2 separate regions of the Homo sapiens genome follow, and region 1 is linked to region 2. The links are contacts of gene promoters, found by promoter capture Hi-C in blood cells and fetal thymus (Javierre and others, 2016). All regions are on one chromosome and are shown on one strand. The core of a region is centred on a gene start or on the middle of the fragment in contact, and the rest is flanking DNA. Distances in the headings are between cores, read along the strand shown. Region 1 overlaps SAP30BP (SAP30 binding protein). Region 2 holds the start of FDXR (ferredoxin reductase).

Region 1 (6,699 bases), core at 507-3,006, 800 kb before region 2:
TGGCTGCAGTAAGTTATGATGGCACCACTGCACTCCAGGCGACAGAGGAGACTCCACCTCAAAAAAAAAAAAAAAAAAAAAAAAAAAACAAAAAACAAACAAAAAAACTTCATATGCTTAAAGCAGAATGTCCAAAATTAAGGGTTTTGAATATAAAAAATATTGTTACACATCAATTTAAAAAAATGTGGGCTGGGCACAGTGGCTTATGCCTGTAATCCCAGCACTTTGGGAGGCAGAGGCGGGCCTATCACTTGAGGCCATGAGTTCAAGACCAGCCTGGCCAACATGGTGAAACCCTGTCTCTATTAAAAATACAAAAAATTAGCTGGGCATGGTGGCTCACACCTGTAATCCCAGCTACTCGGGAAACTGAGACAGGAGAATCGCTTGAACCCAGGAGGCGGAGGTTGCACTGAGCCGAGATCACAGCACTGCACTCCAGCCTGAGCGACAGAGCAAGACTCTGTCTCAAAAAAATAAATAAAATAAATAAATAAAAATAAAATGTAAATGTGCCAGAAAGTTCTGGATTTGAGGTACATGTTGCTATGTGGAAGAGAGTCTGAGGCCAGCTCAAGCAGAAGGATGACAGGGCCAGGACTAAGATAAGAGTATCACAGAAGACTCATGCTGGGGATCATTTGTAGTCCTTGGAGATGCCACGAGGACTCCTAAAGGCCTGGCAGCCACTGGGGATTGCAGAACATTGAAGCTGGCAAGCTTTATCTAAACCCTTCTCCATCACCCTCCAAAAGAACTATATCAAGTGACTTTGAGGGTTGGATTTTGTGTTCTGATTTCTGAGGGCTCCTCAAGAGGAACAGAAATTATTCCATGAAAACTTTTCATTCCACAGTAAAACTTGAAATGCACATGAGTGAATGAGGAACAGCGAAGCACATCAGTCAAGGAGCAGGCAGGAATGACGAGGCTGTCAGCCGTGATGTAGGGCTGAGAAGGGGAGCCTGAGCACAAAAGGCATTTCCACAATCTTCCCAGCTTCACCTTTTTTGGGTCCCTCCCACCCCGCTCTTTAGTGACTGCTACTGGACAGCAGTAAAGTCTGTTTTGTTTTTCATGTGACCCCCACCCTGACTCACAAAGCCCTGTCATCTCCCAAGGATTTGTTGCCTGGATTACAGTATTTTAGAAGGGGTGACCGTTAAGTGTTATGTACCCTCCTCTCCAGCCAACTTCCCCAGGAAGCCTTCCAGCCCTAAGAAAAGGCTGCAACTGTACCCAGAAAGACTCTAGGACCCAGATCCTCCCTTCCCTCCACAACTGAAACCCAAACACTTAACGGCTCCCTGGGCTTGTTTTACGTGCAGGCTCCAAGTCCCACATACCCTAAATACTAGGCAGAGAAGATTATCACTACTGAGTGTTTTGTTCTGCAAGCCCGAGGAGAGCTGTGACTGACTTTGAACTATGGGGCCATGGGTCTGCCCATACCATCTTGCCAGTTCTCAGGCAGGGCGAGTTCTCAGGCCTGGGTTCCAGGTTTTTCACTCAGCATAGAAAGCAGGTTGCATTTACAGTTTTCAGGGGTTCTTTTTTTTCCCTCCTGCATGCTGGCGCCAAAACTTTCTTTCCTGGTAAAACACACTCTTATCTTTCTCACTCACAACGTCTCAAGATTTTAGTGGCTACATACAGTTCTATCCAATCACAGAATCAGCTCAAATATGGAACAGCTCACACTATATTTTCAAGAATATTACTGTTTTAGATTTTAATTGGGCATAAATTTCCTAAATTTTACTAGGTCATCTTGAAAGTTACAGCTGGTTTCCAAGCAGTTTTTTTTTGTTTTTTTTTTTGAGACAGATTCTCATTCTGTTGCCCAGGTTGGAGTGCATTGGCAGATCATGGCTCACTGCAACCTCTGCCTCCCAGGTTCAAGTAATTCCCCTGCCTCAGCTTCCCCAGTAGCTGGGATCACAGGTGTGCACCACCCACCAGTCTCACCAGTTAATTTTTGTATTTTTAGTAGAGACGGGGTTTCACCATACTGGCCAGGCTGGTCTTGAACTCCTGACCTCAAGTGATCCTCCCGCCTCAGCCTCCCAAAGTGCTGGGATTACAGGCGTGAGCTACTGCGGCTGGCCTCAAAGCAGTTTTTAACTGCAAAATGGGTCCTTATTCCCCGGGTCTAGAGTGATATAATTAAGTCTTTTTCTTTGGGGGTACAGGGGGGAAGTTTTTCCTCATAAAAAATGACTCTTCAGCAAGTACACATTTCTAATGGCCAATGCACAGCACAGCAGCTTAACCAACACAAGGGTGTCTTAACCTTCACAACAGATCATTATGGAATGTGATAGGAATTGCTACAAATTACTCTTGGCTGCTACTAGGATGACACTATGAGAATAGTTATGTTGTTCCGAAAAAGACCATTCTGTACAGCTTGCCCAAAAGTGGATGGACACACCCCCAGGAAAATGAGCATTAGACCCACCATCCCTGAGAGCTGGGGAGAGGCCTCATTTTGGTCTGACCTTCTTATAGCCTCTTGTTCACTTCTAGATGACTAAAGAGAACCCAAAGCACGCGAGGCGGCCCTTACACCTTCCTGGGTCTAGAAACAGACTAATCCACCTGCAGGGCAGTGACACTTAAAGCCCCATCTGGGATGCAGAATGCAAGTGGGTTGTTGGCCTCAGCCAGGCCTCTCGCCTTTCTAGTCAGGAGATATGGCACAATCTGAAAGGCTGGAAATCCAATGTGTCTCAGGATTTGTTCATTCCTGAGTTGTCTCCAGGTTCTTTCTTTATAAAGCTTATTTTATCCCAGAAAATGTCCACACAGTTGCACAGTTTGTCAGTGGGACAGATCTTGACCAAACATACGAACTGAGCCACAGTGTTCAAACACCTTGTTTGCATCCAGCCACCCACCACAGCCAACACCAAATACCTTTGGGTCATCAGCCTCAGGTTTTTCAGTCTCTGAATCGTCATCTTCCTACAAGACAAAGAATTTAGAGGATTAAGCTTAAAGGAGCGGGCCTGAGGAGTCTCACATGCATAACTAGGGGCCGGAGCAAACAGCCCATTTACCCAGCTGGGGTCATCCCACCAAGAATCCCTCCCCTACCATATAACTCAGAACCAGAGAAAAATAAGGGGAAAAAGAGATATTCTGGAGGGGAAAAAAACAAAAAACAAAAAAGCATCAGCAGCTCAAAGTCAAGTTACTTTAGTGGTGAGACAGTCCACATCAATGAAGATGCCCGAGTTCAAAGTCACATACATAAAAATGGAGAAAGCTTGCAATATGTTTTAGGAAAGAGTAAGATCAGGCCACACAATAAAACAGGCATCGTGTTTCCACTGAAGTATCAGTTATTTCAAATCAGGATTATGAGCCTTCTTTCCTTTTCATATACACATGTACATCAGACTCGGACCTACTCTAACAGTGTCCAACACCAAGTGCCAAGGCTTACACACAGCTGTATCGCAGCACCTCAACCGGCATTTGCACAAACATCAACACAGGAAGGCAGGCATCAAACTACCTGAGCAAGTGACCTGGGAAAGGCAGGACTAAAGGGCAATGCCCAACCTTTCAGGAGTCCCAGTTGAGTGGGCTCTGCCTCCACCTAAGTGCTCACAGAACTGCCAGTGATCCATTCTACCCAGTCCTGTTCCTTATCCAGATGAGGTCAGCCTGACACAAAGGATCACACACGGTAAGGCATTCTCCAAAGCGAGCCCGCCATTCCACTGAACGCTAACGCTGATGCTATGAAGGTCAAAGATCAGGAGCAGATGCTGGACCAGCTACCTTATTAGCTGGCTAAATCCATGTCACCTCCACTACCCAGAACACTCCCAATGCACAGAAGCCTTTAACTAAATACCCAGGAAAAAATGGTTTCATTTGAAACTACTATTTTCAACAAAGCTACATTTCAGCCCAAACATTACACAGCACTCCATATATTAATATAAATACCACTCGAGAGACTTGAACAAACTAGACTCATGATTTGGAGACTTAACTGTCCTGTAAGGTACCAGTGAGTCCAAGGCTTTAAATGCAATCTCCATAATCTCCTTAAAATGAAATCAGTCATGCCAAATAAACAGAGATGGAGCTCAGACAAATACAATCACATTTCAGAATCTCTACAACAAGATCTGATGAGAGGATTTTACTAAAATATGAAATGAAGCTTAAACATGATGAAAATTCTAAGCAAAGCAAATATGAAATAACACTTCAAAAACACATTATGCAAACGTACTAAAGAAAAGAGTTATGAATATTAAGCCAGAATGTGTGTACTTCAGAAAAGTCAGAAAACAACTTGCAAAACTTTTCTGAATAATTTCAGTCAACTCTGAATTATCAATATTAATGGATGGGGCTAAAGGCATGAAAGTATCTCCCAAAATGCATCATGTACAAAACGCATTTCTGTTTGTTGTGGAAATAATTTTTTTTTTTTTTAAGATGGAGTCTGGCTCTGTTGCCCAGGCTGGAGTGCAGTGGCGTGATCTCGGCTCACTGCAACCTCCGCCTCCCGGGTTCAAGCGATTCTCCTGCCTCAGCCTCCCGAGTAGGTGGGACTACAGGTGCGTACCACCATGCCCTGCTAATTATTGTATTTTTAGTAGAGATGGGGTTTCACCATGTTGGCCAAGATGGTCTTGATCTCCTGACCTTGTGATCCGCCCACCTCAGCCTCCCAAAGTGCTGGGATTACAGGCATGAGCCACCGTGCTTGGCTGGAAAGAATTTTAATGCTAACATTTACATACCAACATGTAACAAAAATTTCAAACAAATAATATATTTTAAGTGATTTAATTAAAACTTGCTAAGCAGTCAGATTTGACATCTAGACTCAACTCTGCCTGTCTTATGCTAAGCACCAACTTCAATTTCCTTGCGTTTTCTGCAAACTTAAATTCTGGCTCATGTTGCTCAGGTGATTATGTGTCTAAAGACTTTCTTGTTAATAATAGCACAGGTTCTCCTTTCTCCAGCACCTACTGAACTTCAGGCAAGATTTGTGATCAAGAACTAAGGGCACCATTATAAAAAGTGCCAAATAAAATGTCAAGAAAGAAGTTAAGAAGGCCAGGGATGGTGGCTCATACCTGTAATCCCAGCACTTTGGGAGGGTGAGGCAGGGGAATTGCTTGAGGCCAGAAGTTTGAAACCAGACTGGGAAACATAGTGAAACAACGTCTCTACAAAAAATTTTTTTTTAAATTTTAAAAATCGGCCAGGAGCAGTGGCTCACGCCTGTAATCCCAGCACTTTGGAAGGATGAGGCGGGTGGATCACCTGAGGTCAGGAGTTAGAGACCAGAATGGCCAACATGGTGAAACCGTCTCTGTGAAAAATACAAAAATTAGCCAGGCGTGATGGCAGGTGTCTGTAATCCCAGCTACTCAGGAGGCTGAGGGCAGGAGAATTGCTTGAACCTGGGAGGTGGAGGTTGCAGTGAGCAGAGATCGCACCACTGCACTCCAGCATGGGCGACAGAGCAAGATTCCGACAAAAAAAAATAATAATAGGTTAGCTAGGCATGGTGGCGCCCACCTGTAGTCCCAGCTACTGGGTAGGCTGAGGTGGGAGGATCACTTGCGCCCAGGAGTTCAAGACTGTAGTGAACTATCTATGATCACACCACTGCACTCCAATCTGGACAGCAGAGTGAGACCCTATCTCAAAAAAAAAAAAGAAAAGAAAAAGCAGGTGAAAACGAATTTTCCTTTCTTATCTTGTTAATAAACTGAGAAGACTTAAATGAGCCCCAACCAAGATTAAAAATAATGCAGAGTTGACTGTAGATATAAATGATACACCAGTTAGGATGAATGCCTGCTATAAATGGAGTAAATCATTTAAACAGGGAAAAATCAACATAAAACACCCATTGATATCTGGGTTAAATAAAATAATCCACTATCTTTTCCCCCAAATTTCAATTCAAAGATTAATAAAAAATGATCCATGTGAAAATACATTTTCAAACAGATCTGATATCCAATCCAGTTTCTTCCACTAATACTAAAACAAAACGGGAGAGCAAGGGATGGAGCTAACCATGAAATGGAACACTGTTGGCACAGTTCCAAAATCTGACAAATGAAATTGTGCTTTCAGTAGCTCTGGATCTGGGAGATTTACCTACCGACTGTCTACTGTTCTCATCTTCTTCTTCTTCATAACCATCTTCATCACCCCCTAGACGAGAAAAGTCATCCTCCCCATAGGCATCAGATACCAATCCGCCTTTCTCCTCTGAAAGGTTAAAAAACAAACAAACAAACAAAAAGCAAGAAAAAAAAAACAAGAGTTACAATGTAAGAAAAAATGTCCAGAGATTTGAGTGGCCAAGACTATCTCTGAAGATACAAAGGGAACCTAAATCTCATGTTAAGTTACAATAGGCCCAGATTCGGCTCTCTGAGAAGGCCAGCATTTACTGAATAAAATCATTAAAAGGTCAGGGAACAAAACCGAGTACTAAATTCTGTTTCTAATGCTATAAACACTAGATAAACACTAAAGTGTTTATAGGAAACCATCAGAGAACTTTCTGACTGGAAGAGACCACACAAAATCACAAAACATGGAAGTACCTAACCTAATCCAATCCCCTTCACTTTCCAGATGAGGAAGCTAAGGTCCTGATATGTTGTTAGGTAACTTGTTCTTTATTCTCCCAAA
Region 2 (6,588 bases), core at 2,161-4,660:
TGTGACAATCAAAAATGTCTCCAGACATTGCTGAGTTGACCCAGTTGAGAACATGCAAGTCATTCTCTGAGCGTGTAATTGCCTTGTTTTTCAGTGAAGGCCTTGGATAGAGTGAAAGGCCTCCTGACCCTGCTGATAGGGAGACAAACTGCCGGCAAATGGGAGCCTGGGGGATGGGCAGAGGGGTCTGGCTACAGGCACAGGCATTCCCTGAGCCTTGTTCCGTTGGAGAGCCCCTCTGTGGTGTGGCCTTAGGCAGCTGCACAGAGGCCACTGGTTCTTTTATGTGCACTCTCCATTCATCTCCACCACACCTTCCTTTACCAAAGACCGCAGTTCCTTTAGACACCCTTTTCCATAGCTACAGACTCTCACTAGTTCTGAAACAGCTCCCTCCAGGCTTGCGGTGGTAGTGGTTTCCAGCTGTTGCTAGCCTGGGGTGCTTCTCCATTCCCTTCACCCTGCTCACACCTCTGTATACAAACTCCTTCATTAAACTGTCCTCAATCACGCCTTTTGAGTGTGCCATCTGTTTCTTGCTAGAAGGTTGACTGATAGAGTGGAGTTTTGGATCCAGGCAGCCCTCTTGGCACGAGGCAGGCTTGGCGGCTCCCCAGCCCACTGCTTTGCTATATGTTATTGCTGCTCCTTGGAAATGCATTAGCAGCTTAGAAATGGCCTTGAGATCTAGGGGTGTAATTAATCAAACTGCTAATTCTCCATTTGAGAAACGCAGTGGCAGAAAAGGCCCCAGTTGCACAGTCCTGGCTCATGATTAAAACCATCCAAATACATAACCAATGACTCATTGTTATTGATCTGGACCTGACTGGGGTATGGGCAGCAGCTGAAGGCACTGGTGCCAGATCTGGCTGTACCATGGGTATCATGGGAACAAGTCACTCGATTGCTTTGAGGCTCCATTTTCTGTTTCACTTAGGATGTGGGCTGGGAATTTCTGAGGCCTGAGAGGTGAGGGAGGTGACAGGAGTGAATGAAGTATATCCAGATCTCTGCAGAGACTTAAGGTCTAATCTACAGAGACATATGGGAGGTCATAATACATATGGATGATGATAATAATAGCTAATGTTTATCTAGCATTTATGGAAGTTGTCTTGACCTCATCATCTGATTTTAATGTCTACAACAAATTGCCACTATTCATATTTCCCCCAAATGTTACAGACAGTGAAAAAAAGTCCTGGAGAGATTAAATTTCTCAATGTCATATAGCTAGTAAGTGGAGGAAGAGGGATTCAGACCCAATGTTGTCTGACTCTAGAATCCATCCTCCACCACCAGATATACTGCCTCTAGATGGGGAGCCCTACAGAACTTTTTCGATTGTACGAACTTCCATTATGTGCTAGCCAGTGTGTGAAGCCCTGGGGGTATAAGAGCTGAGACTGGGTCCCCATCCTCATGGAGCTTATAATGTAGTGCAGGGGTGGTCAAACTCTGTAAAGGACCAGATAGTAAATATCTGGGGCTTTGCGAACCATATGATCTCTGTTACAACTACTCAATTGTGCCATCAAAGCACAAATATAGCCATAGACAATATGTAAAGAAGTAAGCATGGATGTCTTCCAATAAAGTTTTATTCAAACTGAAGTCTGAATTTCATGTAATTTTTACGTGTCACAAAATGTTGTTTTTTACCATTAAAAATATAAAAACAAGCTGGGTGTGGTGGCTCACTCCTGTAATCCTGGCACTTTGGAAGGCCGAGGTGGGAGGATCGCTTTGAGTTCAGGAGTTCGAGACCAGCCTGGGTGACATGGCAAAACCCCATCTCCACAAAAAATGCAAAAATGAACCAGGCGTGGTGGCAGGCACCTGTGGTCCCAGCTACTCCGGAGGCTGAGGCCTGAGGCTCGCTTGAGCCAAGCCAGGAAGCAGAGGTTGCAGTGAGCACCACTGCACTCCAGCCTGGGTGACAGAGCAGGACCCTGTCTCAAAAAACAAAATCAAAACCAAAAACAAAAACCCCAAAACCTCCAAAAAAACAAAAACAGTAAAAGCCATTCTTGTTGGTCATCCAAAACATGCTGGTGGACAGTATTTGGCCTGCAAGCTATAGTTTGCCTACTCCTGGTCTAGTGGGACAGGCATAAAACACAGTGACCTATTAGAAAGCAGACAGCATTTACTTACCAGTGGGAGGGAGGGGAAGTGACCAGTAAGGGCACAGAGGACTCCTGGGATACTGGCCATGTTTTATTTCTTGATCTGGGTGGTGGTTATATGGTTACACCTTGTGATATATTGTCAAGTTGTACACTCATGATTTGTGCACTTTTCTGTATGTTATTATTGAATTTAAAATCTCATTAAAAACGACAACCAGTGTAGTAAGTCATGATGGGATAAGGTCAGATGCTGTGGAATGAGAGGCCTTTAACTCCTTGGAACTTGGGAGGGGACGGGTCAGAGAAAAGGCTTCTCCAAGGAAGTAATATTTGACAAGAGGGCCCATGGGGAAAAGGAAGAGGGGTTAGGCTTATTGGGTCAGCTGTGACTACGGATCCTGTCCTTATTTTTAAAAACATTTTGATCATAGACTTTTTGCATTACTTTTGACCTTTTAAAACGTTGCAGTATTATATTTATCTTGATTACTGAGTGTTTTGGAGCCCCCTTAAATTCTGAACCCGAGGGGAGTACCTCAACTCTGGTCCCGGCTCGGCTGCACGGGGGTCGGACGCTCTGTCCTTAGTACCATACGTAAGCCACTGCCCCGCCCCGCTTTTCTTCACCTATGTAATGGGAAAGGAGGTGAGGTGGGACGAGCTTTCCAGGGTTTAATATTCTCCCTGGCCCGGCAAAGACGGGGATTTGAGGGGTTACATCGGCACAACACCCGGGGTCGAAGAAGGAGGCTGCTGGGCTCCGGGAAGGAGCTCCCTCGCCCCAGACTTCCGCACTCTGGTTATTTCCCAACGGCGGGAAGGCTCGCTTGGAGCCGGACTCGTGATTGGCTAGGACGAAGTCACGTGGGAGGATTCGCAATCAAATGGCAAGGGCGTCTGCGTCATCAGTGAGCGACGAGAGCCTCCCGAGAGGGGCGCGGCTAAGTAAAATAAGCTCCTTTCTTAGTGGCTGTTTCCTTGGGGAGGGACTGAAACAGCGATGGGGATTCGCTCTCTTCCAACCCTAGGCTTCCGGGATTTGGAGGGAAGGTGAGGCCTGGGGAGAAATGTATTAAATCGCGTATACCCCGGATGCTCCGAGGGGCGGGGCTTCGACGGTGGGGCGTAGTTAAGGGCGGGTCTCTCTTTTGGGGGCGGGATTCTCTCGGGAGTCGGGGTGGAGCCGCAAGGCTCCGCTTTCCCGGAGCGCAGGGGGCGGGGTTTGGGGCGGGGCCTCGCTTGTGGGCGGGCCCGGGCAGGAGCGGGCTTGCCCTGCGGAGCAGTAGCTAGGAACAGATCCACTTGCAGGTTGCTGCTCCCAGCCATGGCTTCGCGCTGCTGGCGCTGGTGGGGCTGGTCGGCGTGGCCTCGGACCCGGCTGCCTCCCGCCGGGAGCACCCCGAGTAGGAGCAGGGCGCCTTTGGGGCTGGATGGGAGCGCGGGGAGGCCTGCGAGCGCTGAGTAGGGGTCGGAGCAGAGCTGGGGCAGGGCTGGAGAAGGGTGAGACTGAAGGGGTGTCTTCCTGCTGGCGAGATCCCGGTGGTGTACGGGGGTGGGCGGAGATCTGTGCGTGAGATGTGAGGCTTCTAGGGTTAGAGACGGAGGTCAACAAAGGTGAAAAGGAGAGACTTTGAGATCTACAGGTGTGAGACGGGGTGAATGGAGGATGATACGGAGGTCTGTGGGGCGAGAGGAAAGTCTGAGTCGAAACAGGGATCTGTAGGAATAAGACGGGTCTATATGGGCAATATAGCGTTTTGTGGAGAGAGAGAGGGGTTAGAGGAGGGACACCGTGGGGAGACCCACGGGGGCGAGATTGGGATGATATGGAGGCCGTTGGAAGGATGTGGGATTCTAGCCGATTGGATAGGGAATGAAGTGTTGTTGGGCAGGCCATTGGCAGTGGTGTAGTAGGTTCATGGGTGAGATGTGGGCTCTGGATGAACCCACAGCCTTTGGGGGTTCAGATGAAGTAAGAGACCCTGCAAATGCCAAAGCCTTGAGGAACAAGAGAAGGAGGATGCAGGTGAGGGTGAAGCTTGGGAAGTTCCAGCTTCTGTTGGATATTCAGGTTGGTTTGGGACTGGGGAGAGAAGTTAATTTTGACCTTTTCCCTCTCCTCTGCCTGGCCCCAGGCTTCTGCCACCATTTCTCCACACAGGAGAAGACCCCCCAGATCTGTGTGGTGGGCAGTGGCCCAGCTGGCTTCTACACGGCCCAACACCTGCTAAAGGTAAGCCACTTACTCATAGTCCATCATTCACCTGCTGCTCCAGTCCTAAGGGCAAGCCTCACCCGCTTTGGGTTTTAAGAGCACTCCTGGTTGCCTTATGGGGAAGGGGCTCCCAGCCATCTGGCCTGGACACTTCCCACTTGCTTCCTCACCTACACCTGAGGCTCCCCTCCCCTCCCGTCCTCAGTGTGACAGGGGTGTAAAACGCACATTGGTGGTGAGTGGTCAGTGGCAGGTGGTCAGCTTTGCCTCCCTGGCCAAGCACTCCAGGGGGCTTATGTAGACCTGCAAAATGACTTTGTCCTCCTTCATCTTCCCTCCTCTCTCGTCTATCTTCACTCTATCCCAAACATCCTACATCTCGAGGCTACCCACCTCCTCCGCTTTCTGTAACTTTACCTGCCTTGCCATGCCCTCCTCACCCATAGCTCCAGTCCTCCGTGCCATTCTGTTCTTTCAGCCTGCCCTCTGCCCCTCCCCCTTCCCCTGTGAAGGCCAGGATCTCAAGGCTTTCAGTGTCTGCCTCGGCAGGAAGGGCCCCAAGCCAAGGCTACAGGTTCTACTTGAGACTCCACATCAGACTTTGGGACAGAGTAGAGAGGGGATACCCAGGTTAACTGAGACGTGAGACAGTTGCCTAGCTTTGGAGAGGCTTGGAGTGTCCGTGGAGAGACAAGAGAAAGGATGAATATCTTAATTATACACACACACACAGATGCTTGAAATGTAGGGTGACCAACTGGCCTGGACTGCCCAGGACAAGGGGCTTCAGCGCTAAGCTGGAAGTTCTTGGGAAACTGGGATGAGTTGATCACTCTGCTGAAAAGTGACCCGTGCATGCTTCCCAGGCAACACGGGTGAAAGAGCTAATTACAATAATGTGGGCAGCGTGAGCCGAGGCAGGTGGGGTCAATCAGAAACTGTTTCCTGGGCCGGAAGCCCAGGTGGCTCATGTCTGTAATCCCAGCACTTTGGGAGGCCAAGGCAGGTGGATCACTTGAAGTCAGGAGTTTGAGACCAGCCTGGCCAACGTGGTGAAACCCCATCTCTACTAAAAATAGAAAAATCAGCCACGTGTGGTGGCACAGGTCTGTAGTCCCAGGTACTTGGGAGGCTGAGTCGGGAGGATCGCTTGAACCCAGGAGGTGGAGGTAGCACTGAGCCAAGATCAAATCACTGTACTCCAGCCTGGGCGACAGAGTGAGACCCTGTCTCAAAAAAAAAAAAAAAAAAAAAAAGAGAGACAGTGCATTTGAGCTGCCTTGAAGCAGACCAAGGGCTTTGGTGAGGGCCTCCCACATGTGGGGAGTCATCCTGGAATGCAAGGCCTTGGGCACGCTGCCATGTGGGAGGGAGGACAGCCTGGGCTCTGGGATGGAGATCAGGGAGCACATGGGGGCTGGAGAGGCCCTGAAGGGCTTTGTATAAGGGACAGTTTTTTTTTAGCTGATCCTGACATTTTGGAAGGGAGGAGAGTAAGCTTTCCAGGCAGTGTTCTTTTTTTTTTTTTTTTTTTTTTGAGATGGAGTCTGGCTCTGTCGCCCAGGCTGGAGTGCAGTGGCACAGTCTCAGCTCACTTCAACCTCCATCTCCCAAGTTCAAGCGATTCTCCTGCCTCAGCCTCCTGAGTAACTGGGATTACAGGCGCACTCCACCACATGCAGCTAATTTTTGTATTTTTGGTTGAGACAGGGTTTCACCATGTTGATCAGGCTGGTTTTGAACTCCTGACCTCAAGTGATCTGCCCACCTCGGCCTCCCAAAGTCCTGGGATTACAGGCGTGAGCCCCCGCGCCCGGCCAGGCAGTGTTCTTAGCACGACTGTATTCAGCTGGCAGACACGTGCACATGCTTTCCTTGTGGAATGGGATGGGGAGGGGCTCAGGCCAGGTACAATCCTTGTTCTGATCCTTGGGCTGATCTTTGCCCACAGGGAGCTCCAAGCTACTGGCTGTGCTCCTAAGACAGGACCACATGCAGCACGTTTGGGACAGTGGCCCTTAGCTTGAGTCAGGCACTGAGCACAGCATCTCGTAGCATCCTCATGACAACCTGCAAAGCAGGTGTCGTGCCTCTTGCTTCACAGGTAAGGATGCTAGGGCCAAGTGAGGTTGTCCAAGCTTCCACCGTGGAGCAGGGATGGCACTGGGATCTGAGCGAAGGCAGCTCCATGTGAGGCCATCCATGTTAATCCATTCAGTAATCATTTACTGGACGTAA

The links. Contacts are between HindIII fragments. The CHiCAGO score rates a contact against its expected background, and 5 or more counts as called.
Region 1: a contact is called between a fragment that was not itself captured here and the fragment with the promoter of FDXR in region 2, in 1 of 17 cell types (neutrophils). The highest score is 5.3, in neutrophils.

The regions. Positions count from the first base shown.
Region 1 is chr17:75,668,087-75,674,785 of GRCh38, reverse strand. SAP30BP (SAP30 binding protein) reads right to left here. Exons shown (of 11, transcript NM_013260.8): 2 at 6,161-6,270; 3 at 2,923-2,970. Among named protein-coding and RNA genes, the nearest start is that of SAP30BP, 4.1 kb to the right of the region's middle. The HindIII fragment of the contact is 2,061 bases long and covers 726-2,786 here.
Region 2 is chr17:74,869,816-74,876,403 of GRCh38, reverse strand. It overlaps FDXR (ferredoxin reductase), which reads left to right and starts at 3,410. Exons shown (of 12, transcript NM_024417.5): 1 at 3,410-3,538; 2 at 4,271-4,368. The coding sequence starts at 3,460. It also overlaps a transcript of FADS6 not described here. RefSeq lists enhancers at 1-244, 1,360-2,260, 2,881-3,110, 3,066-3,360, 3,158-4,058, a cis regulatory region at 924-995 and silencers at 3,271-3,500, 3,541-3,670. The HindIII fragment of the contact is 12,318 bases long and covers 1-4,175 here.